2 separate regions of the Homo sapiens genome follow, and region 1 is linked to region 2. The links are contacts of gene promoters, found by promoter capture Hi-C in blood cells and fetal thymus (Javierre and others, 2016). All regions are on one chromosome and are shown on one strand. The core of a region is centred on a gene start or on the middle of the fragment in contact, and the rest is flanking DNA. Distances in the headings are between cores, read along the strand shown. Region 1 overlaps ELOVL7 (ELOVL fatty acid elongase 7). Region 2 holds the start of DEPDC1B (DEP domain containing 1B).

What was found. The method cuts DNA at HindIII sites, captures the fragments that hold promoters and counts their contacts. A CHiCAGO score of 5 or more calls a contact.
Region 1: a fragment that was not itself captured here is called in contact with the fragment with the promoter of DEPDC1B in region 2 in 1 of 17 cell types (megakaryocytes); the score reaches 5.7 in megakaryocytes.

What each region holds. Positions count from the first base shown.
Region 1 is chr5:60,819,812-60,826,344 of GRCh38, forward strand. All of the region lies in intron 1 of ELOVL7 (ELOVL fatty acid elongase 7), which reads right to left. Among named protein-coding and RNA genes, the nearest start is that of ELOVL7, 21 kb to the right of the region's middle. RefSeq lists a silencer at 2,518-2,577. The HindIII fragment of the contact is 689 bases long and covers 2,581-3,269 here.
Region 2 is chr5:60,697,238-60,703,729 of GRCh38, forward strand. It overlaps DEPDC1B (DEP domain containing 1B), which reads right to left and starts at 2,929. Exons shown (of 11, transcript NM_018369.3): 1 at 2,809-2,929. The coding sequence starts at 2,856. It overlaps LOC124900982 (a long non-coding RNA gene), which reads left to right and starts at 3,003. Exons shown (of 2, transcript XR_007058779.1): 1 at 3,003-3,104; 2 at 4,417-4,850. The HindIII fragment of the contact is 2,062 bases long and covers 2,193-4,254 here.

The DNA of each region.
Region 1 (6,533 bases), core at 1,675-4,174, 120 kb after region 2:
ACCACGATCATAATGCCTACCTGACTTGGTGGATAATTACTATTGTAGTAGACAAAATGATGCTCTCCCCTCCGCGCCTAATATGTCCAAAAGGGTTTCCACAGATGTAATTAAATGTATAGACCTTAAAATAGGGATTTACCCTGGAATATCATGTTGGGCCCGATGTAATCAAATGCATCCTTAAAAGTAGAGAACTGTCTCTGGCTGGAAGAAGGAGGATTTGAAGCATGAATATTCAGTGCAACTTTGCTGGCTCTGGGATGGACTGGCCCACATTCAAGGACTGGGGAGAGGTTCCTAGAAGGTAAGGGTGGCCTCTGACAGACAGCCTGGAAACAGGAACCTCTGTCCTACAGCCACAAAAAAAGTAAATCCTGCCAACAACCTGAATGAGCTTAGAAATGGATTCCAAGCTCCCATTGGAGCTCCAAATGGAGCCTCCTAATAAGAGCCCAATTGACCAACACCTTAATTGGGCCTTGTGAAACACAGAGCAGAAAAACCAGCTGTGCCAACCTGGAATTCTGACCTACAGAACTGTGAGATAATACATTTGTGTTATTTCAATGAACTTAAAAAGTCTGTGGTGGTTTGTTATGGCAGCAATAGAAAACTAATACACTATCTTTCGGTTTAGTTTAAGAACCATTTGTCAAGCCTGTTCCACATGCCAGGCCCTGTGACCAGTGTCTGGGATAGAAAAATGGGTACACATTCTCAAGGAGCTCATAAGTACTTCAGCCCAATGGACAATTCTATGCAAGAAGTTAGCACAAAGCACTACAGGAACACAGAAAGGCACCTAACTGGTACGACATCTTTAGACTCTTGACTTCTCACTTCTCCAACACCCTCCCCTTCTATTATTCGTTCTCCCAATGAGTTGGACCACGAACCTGATCACAAATCAGAAACTGTGAGCCATCCTTAAACTCCACTGACCCCTTAAGACCTGTGGTGTATGCCATCTTTATGATATTTCTCCTAAAAGTCCCTTCCCCTTTCCTTCAACTCCACTTCCTCCCCTCAACCCCTGACTGCTACTTCCTGAGCTTTATCATCTCTTGGCCACACACAGAAGGAAGTGAACTAATAAGTTTGTCTACTGATAAGTCTGTCTTGTGTTGATGTTCTCTTGTCTGCCTAGTGAATTATCTGTTTTTAGTATGCTGTAGCTTTAAGCCCTATACAAAGTTCTCGGTAAATTTGAGTAATAATTATAATTACTGCCTAGTTCACTTCCGTCTTTGTGTGGCCAAGATTACTGAAATCACCTTTCAACTAACTTTCCTAAATGAACAGCCATCCACTGTACACAAGGCCACCAGAGTCATCTTCCCAAGGATTAAAGCAGTCACACCATGCTCTACTTCAAAATCCTTCAAAGTCTGCCTACAGTTACTAAAAAGTCTAACTCTGTGGTGACGCTTAGCACCCTTCTAATCTCTAGCAGAGCAAAACTGTCCCTGCTGGACTTCTAACCCCAATTCCTAGGCAGGGTCTGGCACATGGTTGACTTCCAAACAGTATTCGCTGAACGAATGATCTCAACCCCACGTGACTCTCTAGCTTCATCTCTTGCCTAACAGCAACCTTTTCCACTATGTCCCCTCTATCCTCCAACTCAGCAAGCCCAAGTGCTCCTCCTTCCCCCTCTATCTATGCTCCAGTTTCTCTTCATGACTAAAAATCCTTGTTCGGCTGGCTGGGAAGCCTAGCTCACTTTTCATAATTCTGCCTTCCTCTAACATGCTTTCTGTTCCCCTTACAGCTAAACCACCCAGGCAAACTGTCCAGTCTCTTCTGAGCCCCTGACATAAGCTGTCCCCTCTTCTACCATGGCATCTATAGCAAACACTCTAGGACAGTGGCCTGTGACTGGTGCTGACGCACAAATGGTTTCTTACTAGATTGGTACCAGCTAACTCCAGAAATCAAGTGTAAGCATTTAGAAATGTTTATAGCAATTTGACATTGCTGTGACATCCAAGTATGTGATGCTTGTTGAACAAGGCATAGACCAGTTCAAGTGTTGCTGAATTTGTGAGGTGAGTCACATGTGGTGCAACCTGCATATTCACTATGTGCAATAGGACCATTTACTGATCCACGATAGGGAAAAAAAGAAAAAAACAAATTAAAAACCCAGTTGGTCTATTACCACAGATAGTTTGAGAAGCACTTCTCTAATGCCTTCAGGTGTGTTCTTACCTTCCTCCTTTTGGGAATGTTGTTTGCTGCCTGGGACAATGCAACAATGCAAATGTCTAATAAATATCAGTGAATAAATAAATGAAGGTGTGAATGATAAGAAGGCTTTGTGAAAGATGTGAGACTGAGCTATTTCTTGGTGAACAGTAGGAATTGGGTACTTTGGGGTTGTAGGATAGTCAAATGCACTGAGAAAGGAGTGCAAATGAGGAAGAGTGTGAAAGACACTGCATAGGCAATAGGAAGCGCTGAAAAGGTGAAATATTATTCATAAGCTCGATATGTAAAAGAGCTCAACCACACAGGTCACCAGAGTGCTACCCACTGAAAACCCCAAGCCTGTACCAGAAGAATCCCCTTAGTGCAAGCTTTAGCTATAGGCAAATCAGCTATGCAAAGGATGAATGTGATGGGTGAGCCTAAGAGCAAGAAGACCGAGTGGGGTTTAATTCCATCATCCCAATGAGAAATCATTATAGGCCTGAACAAGGGCAGAGATAGTTTGGTAAAGTAAATCCCAATGTGACAAGCCCAGGGGACATTCAGGTGGAGATGTTTAGCAGGCACTTGGGAGGAAGGTCAAGGCTAAGGATACAGCTTTTGGAACTTCACATCTAGTTGGTGATGAAAACCACAGTAATAGATGCATGAGAACAATAGTGGTCTAAAGACAAACGCCTGGAGAATACCATCACTTAAGGGGAAGGCCAAAAGATGGAATCTCACAAAGGAGACAAAAAAAGAAAGAGTCAAAAAGACATGAGGAGAACTCAGTACGTGCAGGATCATGAAAACAAAAGTGGGAAAAATTCTGAAGAGGGAGGCAGGGATGAATAGGGTCAAATGCATCAGAGAGGTTCAGTGCATAGAGTGGAATGGTCTTCAGCAAATTCAGCCAACCTGGAAGCCTCTGTGACTGGAAGGAAGAAGAAATTAAGCAATGATAAGGCTGAAGCCAAAATGCAAAGGCAGGTGATTAATAGCAGGCATTGAACAGGTCTTGTTCACGAAGCCTGGTGGTGAAGTCTAGAAGAGAAGAAGGAGAGGCAAAATCAAGCTTTATTAGTCTTAAGGTGATAACTGTTGGAGTATTTTTACAGTGAGGGGATGAAGTAATAGAGAGAAACAAGAAGGAACAACCCATGAAGGTCTAGAGGAGAAAATGAGGGGGATGGTCAGAAGCCCTGCAAGGCAGCATTCTCCCTCCACTGGAGCAAGGGTGATACCTCCTCCGAGAAGGAAAACGGGAAAGAAGGGCGTGAAATAGATGAGTTAGTAAAGGGGAGGAAGCCTTCTCCAGAGCCTAAGTCTGGATTAGGGCCCTTCCTACATGCGCCCATAGCATGTACCATGTCCAGTAATTGCCTAATTGACCTGCCTGGATGCAGGGATAGACCATAAGCACCAGGAAGGCACGGACTATAACTGTCCCATTTACCACTCTATGTCCCATGCCTACCACAGTGCCTGGCTTATCTAAGCCCTAATTAAATGTATAGTTGACTAAATGGGGACTAAAAATTAAAGAGGATTCACCAATAGATGCTTCAATTTTTCTAGCAAGTAGGAAGTGGGATCAATTGCCAAGGGTTTATAAAACGGAGTTAGGTAGAGGGTTTTTTAGAGATTAGTGAAAGAATAGAATAGCTTTTCAGGGAAATGGAAACTGAAAATCCTTCAAGAACAAGTTTAAAGTAGTGGTTCTCAATCTTAGTTGCACATTAGAATCACCTAAAGAACATGAGTAACTACTGATGCTTGGGTCCTGCCTCCAAATTTCAGATTTAACTGGTCTCTGTAGCCTGGGCTCCAGGATTTTTTTAAGTTCCCAGATGATTCTAATATGCAGCCAAGATTGAGAGTCACTGAGTGAAAGACTTAAGTAATGCTGGTCAGGATTGAGACAAGACTGGAAACCATGAACTGATCCATTTACCATTTTACCCAGTTTTCCACCACACTGTTCAGCTACCTGGGTATCCCTGCAGAGGATTACTGTAGGATTAATTTGGAATTAGGGCTTTACCAGGTAAATATGGAAGTAGGATAAATAAAAAATTCAGACACTACCTGGGTATCCGTGCAGAGGATTACTGTAGGATTAATTTGGAATTAGGGCTTTGCCAGGTAAATATGGAAGTAGGATAAATAAAAAATTCAGACACCAAGGCAAAATTATAGTCTCTGAGAGAGTGAAGAGAAGGAGGTATAAGAGAGCTGAACAGCCAGAGACCTTTACAGTGCTGTAAAGGTTATCACAGTTGAGTCACACAAGGAACTTTAAGGCCGCTCACAAGTCGGCATTTGAAGGGACGTGGAAGTCTCCCAGAGCAACAGCAGGAGTAACGATGGAGAAACGTCAAAGTCTCTAAGGCATGTGGGATTGAAGCGAAGAACAAGAGACAAAGAAGACTAAGAAAGGCAGAGGCAACAAAGCCCAACAGTGAGATGTTCAAAAAAGGAGAGTTTTGTTTCATTTTCCTATGGAAGTGAAAAAGTAACAGTTAGATTCAAATGTGGCAATGGATAGATAGGGGAATCCTGGCCAGTCCACCCAGATCTTTAAATATGGAAGAAAGCCTCCATTTCTTTCTACATAAAATTCATGAACAAATCCTATCTTCTAAATATATTCTAGAATCCAACTACTTTACTTTAACGGTGGCCCAAGCCACTGTCCTGTCTTATCCGGATTGCTGCAGTAGCCTCTAAGCTGGTCTCCCTGACTTCATCTTTGTCCCTCTTTAATGTCTTCCTCAAGTTAAAAACAACAAAACAAAAACTCAAGTCATGTCCCTTCTCTGTTTAAAATGCACCAATATTTTCCCACCTCACTCACAATAAAAGTCAAAGTTCTTATAATGGGCTCCACGGCCTTACATGATCTGGGCCCTGACTACCTCTCTGACCTCTGACCTTTCCTTCTTCTCACTTCTTTTTTTTTTTTTGAGACAGAGTCTCACTCTGTCACCCAGGCTGGAGTGCAGTGGTGCGATCTCGGCTCATTGCAACCTCCACATCCTGGGTTCAAGTGATTCTCCTGCCTCAGCTTCCCAAGTACCTGGGACTAAAGGCACACACCCAGGCTGGTCTCAAACTCCTGACCTCAAGTGATCCACCCAAAGTGCTGGGATTACAGGTGTGCGCCACCATGCCCAGCCTCACTTCTCATACTTAGCTTCAACTGCATTGATCCCCTTGTCCTTCCCTGAACACACCAAGAATGCCCTGCCTCAAGGCATTGAAAATCACTGTCCCCACAACCTATAGTTCTTTTCCTCCAGATATCTGCCACAGCTTACTCCTTCACTTTCCTCAGATCCCTGCTAAAATGTCACCACTCCAACAACACGCACTTCCCTTACCTTGCTTTATTTTTCTGCATCGTACTTTTCAGTGTTATATATATTTATATGTATTTCACCAATATTCTAAATTTACTTGTTTACCGTCTGGCCCTCTCTGCCCCCAAGAATGCGCTATATTATAAGCTGCTTAGGGGCAGGGATGTTCTTCTGTTTTGTGCACTCTTACCTCTCTGGCACCTGAAACAGTGCTTGACGTGTAACAGACACTGAAATATTTGTTGAATGAATGGATGGATGAACCTTCTCATAAGCAGTGTATGGGCCTGAGGTTGAGGGAAAGAGCTGTGATTCAGTTATATTTGGAAAATGATGAGACTGGGGATACAAGAGAACTGGAACACAATGGAACACCAGTCTCAAAGAATAAAGGACAGAGCTGAAAGTATGGTTAATAGTAACAGGAGCCAATAGAAAGGCTATAATACCCAGTAAAGGGTTTCTCTTTTGGTCAGTAACCAAAAATTACAAGAATGAGAGGAAGGGTGGGAATCCATAGCCTTAAATACCCTGCCTTGAGACAAGCAAGAATTGGCAGTCATAGGTTCAGTCCAAGTAGGGACAGGAATAGGGCATGGAGCCCCATCTGGGGAAGGAATGCCCAGCGGTGGACAGGCAGGGCACATGGACTGATGAATCCTATAGAGAGCAAAAAGCATAATGGTCTTTCCTATTACAAATCTGAATACAGGGGAGGTATTACGGTACATATACACCAAATAGTACGTATCTATAAAATGTACAGGTAAGCCAGAAAGGGAGGAAAAATAAATGGTACTCAAGGAGAGGGGTGGTTAAGAAAAGTAACCAACAGTAAGATCAAATTAATTCATCCTGTTTTGTATTTATGAGTACAGTTCATTTATCCAGCCTCATCTTCTAATGCAGTGTTTCATAAAAGTATTTTAGATAACTGAAATGCTTATCTCTAGGTGTAATCAAAGATACACCTGC
Region 2 (6,492 bases), core at 1,679-4,178:
ATCCACAAAATGTTATTTTCAAATAAGACTTTGGTGCTTTAGAAAAAGCACCAAAGAGCTTTTTCTAAAGCTGTACATGCTTTGAGAAAGTAAAGTGAGCCATGAAAGGAGAAAATAAAGGCCTAGTTTTTGTATCCCAATAGATTTTTACCAAGCTTCCCCTGAAGAAAGTTTAGAATGAGCATGATGGGAAAAGGGAGAAATTGTATGCTGCAGATAGAGGGAGGAAAGGCCAACTAGGTCCAACAAGTAAAAAGAGGACTAGTCTCAAACTATTAAATATATGATTTACCTAGCAAAAGCTTTAAGTCACAGCTGAATTACACTGGGGAAACAATTACAGACTTTACAATGGAAAGAAGCATCTTCAATGTTGGCTGCAATCACTGACAGCAGGAATACTCACTTTTGAAAAAAAAAATTGGCTATTGTTTTCTGTTTTCCACATCTTAGTTTAATATTATGTTCCTCAAACACTATGAAGTTGAGAACTGAATTGATTACCTGGGAAATTCTGGTGAAACTGAGGTGTTTGTTTCATTAATTATCCATGTCATTTATCTTCTTAACTTAATCAACCTAAATTTAGCCTGAATATTATTTGTTAGGGACTGAAGACTTCTAGAGAGCAGAGAGCACCTTTTTTTAATTAAACAAATTCCTTTGATAATATTTTAATGTGACTCAAGAATCCAGCACTATCTATATATGGACCCTCTGCATCCATGAAAAGAAGTACCTCATACAATTCTGTGAATATGAGACTAAAATACAATTCCAATTATGAGGTATTTTTTTTTTAGTCTAATGCAGGAAGAATGAAGACTAGTCACGTCAAGAACCACAGCCTTGCTATGTTTTCCTTGTGTAAGTGCTGTAAATAAATTGGTGAAGGGAATGATCAAATGCCTTATTTTCCTCCCTAAAGTTAGACTTATCAATATTCTTGACCCCAGATCATTCTGGTGTCTATACTGTATAGAGTGTTCGCAAAGATGAGTGCAATGATTCTTCCCATCCTCTCCACATGCACCTCTGTGGCTTTGCCACCCTGCCCATCAAGAAGTGGAGTTGAATTTCTAGAATCTGGATTTAGCTGTTTAACTTGCTTTGACCAATGAGATTTGAAGAAAAAGTCACAAGCTGAAACTTCCTTTTAGCTACGTTGGAACCATGAGACCACTACGTGAAGATGCCTCCGATAACCTGTTAGAGATATCTGGCCCAGGTAACAGCCAGGACCAAGTCAAGCAGCCATCTTCCATCATCCAGTAATAGCCAAGTCACATTATTTGTGGCACATGAGTGACCTCCACAAAAGAACCATTGACATGAGTCTAGCCCAGATTACTGATCCAAAGGATGAGCAAATAAAATGCTTGTCTTTATGCCAAATAAAACAATGTCACAGACTCTCCCAATCTCCTTATTATTTTTTTTTTTTTTTGAGATGGAGTTTCGCTCGTTGCCCAGGCTGGAGTGCAATGGCGCGATCTCAGCTCACTGCAACCTCTGCCTCCCAGGTTCAAGAGATTCTCCTGCCTCAGCCTCCTGAGTAGCTGAGACTATAGGCGCATGCCACCATGCCCAGCTAATTTTTGTATTTTTAGTACAGACGGGGTTTTGCTGTGTTGGCCAGGCTGGTCTCGAACTCCTGACCTCAAGCGATCCATCCCCTTAAATCATGTAAAATTTCATGAGTATGTGCCATGTGCAGTTTTCTGTGAAGAAGATCCTTAATCTTCATCAGATTCTCAAAGCGATCTATGAGCCAAATTTAAAAAGTAAAGACCCATCAGCCCCAACTATGATTTCTCTTCCAGAAGCTGGCCTTCTCAGCTCTGGCTTGACTTACTGGTATAGTGTGTGGCTGGCTTTGGAAAGAAAAGGAAACTCTATTTACATTATCTGTATCCCAGCATCCTCACCTCTTCCATGAGTCTAGCTGAGTAAGAGTTTGGATGTTAGTTCCCATCTTTTCCTGTGTATTCATTATAATGCATGGAACTATGAGAGTAATTCCCATGTTAAATGTGGCCAGAGAGGTCGGCAGACCAAGGAGCAAGTTACTGTCCTCCCAAATTACCATTACACTTCCACAGAAAGTCCTCTAAAAACTTGCCACAGACATTACCAAACTGTCACCCTTTATTGTTCCAAGTCAAAGCAGACCAAGTACACCTCAATACCAAAGCTTTTCTCCCAGAAAAAAAAAAAAAAAAAAACAGGAACTCAGAGTCGGCAAAGACTCTCCTAAAACATCTGTCCTGGCCAGCTCTTCATCTGGATCGGTGCTGACAGAAACAGAAACGCCAGGGGCCGGAAATGCGGCCAGCGCGATGCCCCTCTGTTCTGGGCACCGTTTATTCGAATACCCCGTCAGGTATCATCAGGTGTCACTCAGGAAGGAGACACGCCCTGCCTGGACTGCCGCGAACGCTGAGCGTTACGGGGTACGTGGTGGCCCCTCAGGTTACCGACCGGGTCGGTTAGATTCCAGAGGACAAAAGGCAGGGAACAGCCTGGTCTTGGGGTCTTTAAACAGAGAGGCGCCATCTACTGCCGAGAACCCAGTCAACATCTCATGGACAAAGCTGCACTAACCCCCGGCCGGCTGAGCTCTGGGCCCCGTTAGCCTTTCTTTGAGGCTCGTCCACTAAAAGGCAGCCCCAGTAGTCCCAGCTGAAATGCTCCACACCCGAGCCCCGCTGGCCTGCGGAAGCGAAGACTGACAAGCACTCTGTCCGCGCGCTGAGTGGGGGCTCGCGGCACCGGGTGCTCCGCCCAGGCCCCAGCACACTCACTCACCAGCCTGGTAGCTCGGTACGGCCCGGGCCCCACGATGCGATGCTCCATGGCGCGTAGGCAGCAGCGGCCGCAGCCGCGCCAGCGCTGATCCCCGCCAGCCGGAGGAGCAGCAGTTTGAATCCCAAGCCCGCGGGCTGCGGGCGCTGATTGGGCGGCGCGGCAGCACGTCACCGGAAATGCGCGGGGAGGCAGGCGTCTTCTCCGAGACCCGCGGCGCTGGGAGCTCCGCGTGCGAACTTGCCCGGGGCGAAATCTGTTGCCCACCCTGGTCCCACCGTGCGAGCACACCTAGGCAGGTGCGACTAAGGGGCCGGGGGCGTCTCCCCAGCGCTGGAAAACGCTGTGCAGCGCCCTTCCCAGATTTCTGCGTCCGCGCAACACAAACACACGCAACGCTATCTCTACAAAAGGGTCAATAATAGGTGTTATCCAGCGACCGAAACCCAGCTTTGGGCCGCGTGGATAAATACCTGTCCTCCCTACCAAGTGCACTGTGAGCCTGGAGGTGCTGCTAACGCTGGGAGAAGCGGTAGTGAAATGAAGCGAGGCGACAGCTTTTACCAGTGTAGGGACATTTAAAAACGGGATAGAGAGCACAAGGAGCGTAGACAGTGTGTTAAGGGCAATAAAGAGCGGGAAGGGAGCCCCGATTCCTCTTCTGTTTGTTCTCATGATAGTCTTTTCCCCTTTAATTTGAGTTCTATGTTTTGTATTGGGCTGATACTTTTAGTCCTCGGCAATAGGGTTGTGAGTCCTTTTTTGACTGCTTAGAATTTTCCCCCTGGGAATTGCTAGTCCGATTTGCAATCTTTCAGAGGGACAAATGAAGTAACTCCATATACTTAGGACTCTGTACACCTACTCAAATTTGGTCATCTCGGTAAGTACCCAGGACAAGACGTTGAAGGAGTGAAGGTGTGCCATTCCAAAATATGCCTAATTGGTATATTGATTATTTCGAGCGGAAAACATTGGAGAAATGGTAGTTTCAGAAAGGGCAAGCTGACCTGCCTCTTCGATGCAGCAGGCCACAAAGATTTCTCTGGGATGGGCATCCTCTCCCTACCACGGTGAGAAAATAGCCTTTATCACCAAAGGCTTGGAATTGAAGGCTGCAGTGGACCTGAATAAACATTCTTAACGAAGTAACCCTATCTTCCACTAGGAGATATAGGAGATTTTTTACATATATCTTCTAGTGACTCCCTAGAAAATGTTACTGCCTTTGTGAGCTGTGGAAGTTAACTCGAGTCACAGGGCACCAAAATATGTTAGCAGCTGCCCATATCCGAGACACGGCCCCAAAGTATGTTACAGGCAGTGAATTCCTACAGATCTGCAGCAACCTCAATTCTTGACTCCTCAGAAGAAAGAGTTCGACTGAGGGGCATAAGGCAAAAGGAGAGACCAAGGCAAGTATTAGAACAGAAGTGAAGTTTATTAAAAAGCTTTGAATGAAAGGAAGTACACTTGGAAGAGGGCCAAGCCAGTGACTTGAGAGATCTAGTGCGTAGTTTGACCTTTTGACCTGGGGTTTTATACGTTGGCATACTTCTGGGGTCTTGCTTTTGGGGCTTTGCATTACTTCTCTCCTGATTCTTCCCTTAGAGTGAGCTGTCCACAGGCGCATACTTGAGCCCACTTGCCCAACTCCTAAGATCTTATCGGGAAGCTGCTGATCAACAGTTCAAGTGTTTTCTATTAGGAGACTGCCTTTCCCTGGTGCCGGCTGTGACCAACTATTATTTTAGAGAGACAATTAACAACCACCTGACCATCACCTGATGGCTGCCTGACATTCCTGATGTGTGTGTGTATGAGGGGGAGCCCTCTCCTGCCCTGCTCATGCCTGACTAGCTACCTACTGTAACACCTTAACCAGATTTTCTTTGTCATGGCTTTTCTTCTCAAATTTATCTCTCTTTACCTAAAAAAATGAATAAAAGCATCTTACTTTGGCCACTTCTTCAGACTTCACTCTCTTGTGAAGATCCCCATGTGCACATAAAACTAATAAAATGTGTATACTTTTCTCCTGGTAATCTTCCTGGTGTCAGTGTGGTTTCTAGATACAACTGGAGAGCTCATTAAGAGGTAAAAGGGAGCTTGGAGGTGATCTCTGGCTCCCCTATAACATCATAAGAAAGATCTAAGTAAGGGATTGGACCACCTCTTCTCATCCTCAAAACCACACCACTACCACCACCCATTTGCTGCCTTAGGTTTTTATTTAGCCCAAGAAATGTCCTGAGATGATACATATATATTGCTTTTGTAATTAGAAAAAGCAATTTAAAATTTTTTTCTTACTTCCAGTAAGTGAATCCTTATCAGAACTTTTTTTCTTTTAACCTCTAAGCTCCATGGAAGAGATCTTCTTGTCCTTGGCAAGGAATATAAAGAGATACTTGTGTCCTTGACACAAGAAGCAGGAGAAAGGGAATTTTAAAGCCTTGTCTGAGACCTGCCACCACCTATCATGGTGGTGAAACTAGAATCTGATACAAAACATTATGTCCAGCATTATGCAGCTTTCTAGTTCGGTAAGTATCACAGACTGTGAAATTCCATAGATCTGGATTTCAATAATGACTGGTACTGCTTACCAGTGGAGTGACTTCAAGCTAATTATTTAATTTCCATCTACTCACTGGTAAACTGGGAATATTAATGATTATCTTGCAGAGTTGTAAGGATGTATGTAAAGTGCTAAATATAGTGCCCAGCATGTATTTAAAGTGCCCAGCATATAGCAGTAATAAAAAGAACTATATATTTTTTTAAAAAAATCATGCCAGCTTCTTGAGCATTTCCCAAGAGCCTGTTATTAGCCATAGACAAGATGGCTGTTACTAGAAAGGCATACTTCCAAAGGATCTACATATCAGAAGACACAAAGAGTCATTGCACGGGCCAGGGACATCTCCCCAACGCTGGACAATGCTGTGCAGCACCCTTCCCAGACTTCTGCACTCACGCAACACAAACACACACACTATTTCTCTACAAAAGGGTCAATAAAATGGTGTCATCCAGCGATGCCTCATGCCTATAATCCCAGTACTTTGGGAGACCAAGGCAGGTGGATCACTTGAGCCCAGGAGTTCAAGACCAGCCTGGGCAACATGGCAAAACACTGTCTCTACTAAAAATACAAAAATTATCTGGCTGTGGTGGCACGCTCCTGTAGTCCCAGCTACTCAGGAGGCTGAGGTGGGAGAATCGCTTGAACCTGGGAGGTGGAAGTTGCAGTGAGCCAAGATCGCCCCACTACACTCCAGCCTGGGTGACAGAGTGAGATCTTGTCTCTAAATAAATAAATAAATGCCTCAAAGAAATCGAGGTTTTACATTTGTTCATTCACTTATTCAGCAAGTATGTAAGAATACACTACTGTGTGTCAGGTATAATTCCAGTCTGAAATCATGCAATAGATAAAATGCAGCTTCTAGGAGCTGACTCCTAAGTAGAGGAAGGGATGACAAGCCAGCTATAATACATTCAAATATGTATTATATATCAGGTGGTGATTGAGTACTGGGAAGAAAAGTAAAAGACTAAAGTGGAGAGGGTGGTAGGGGGAAGTTGCTGTTTTGGTTCAGGTGGTCAGAGAAGGCATCTTTGATGAAATGACATCTGTGTAGACGATCTGAGTAAAGTAAGGGGTAGTTGTCTGGGGAAGAG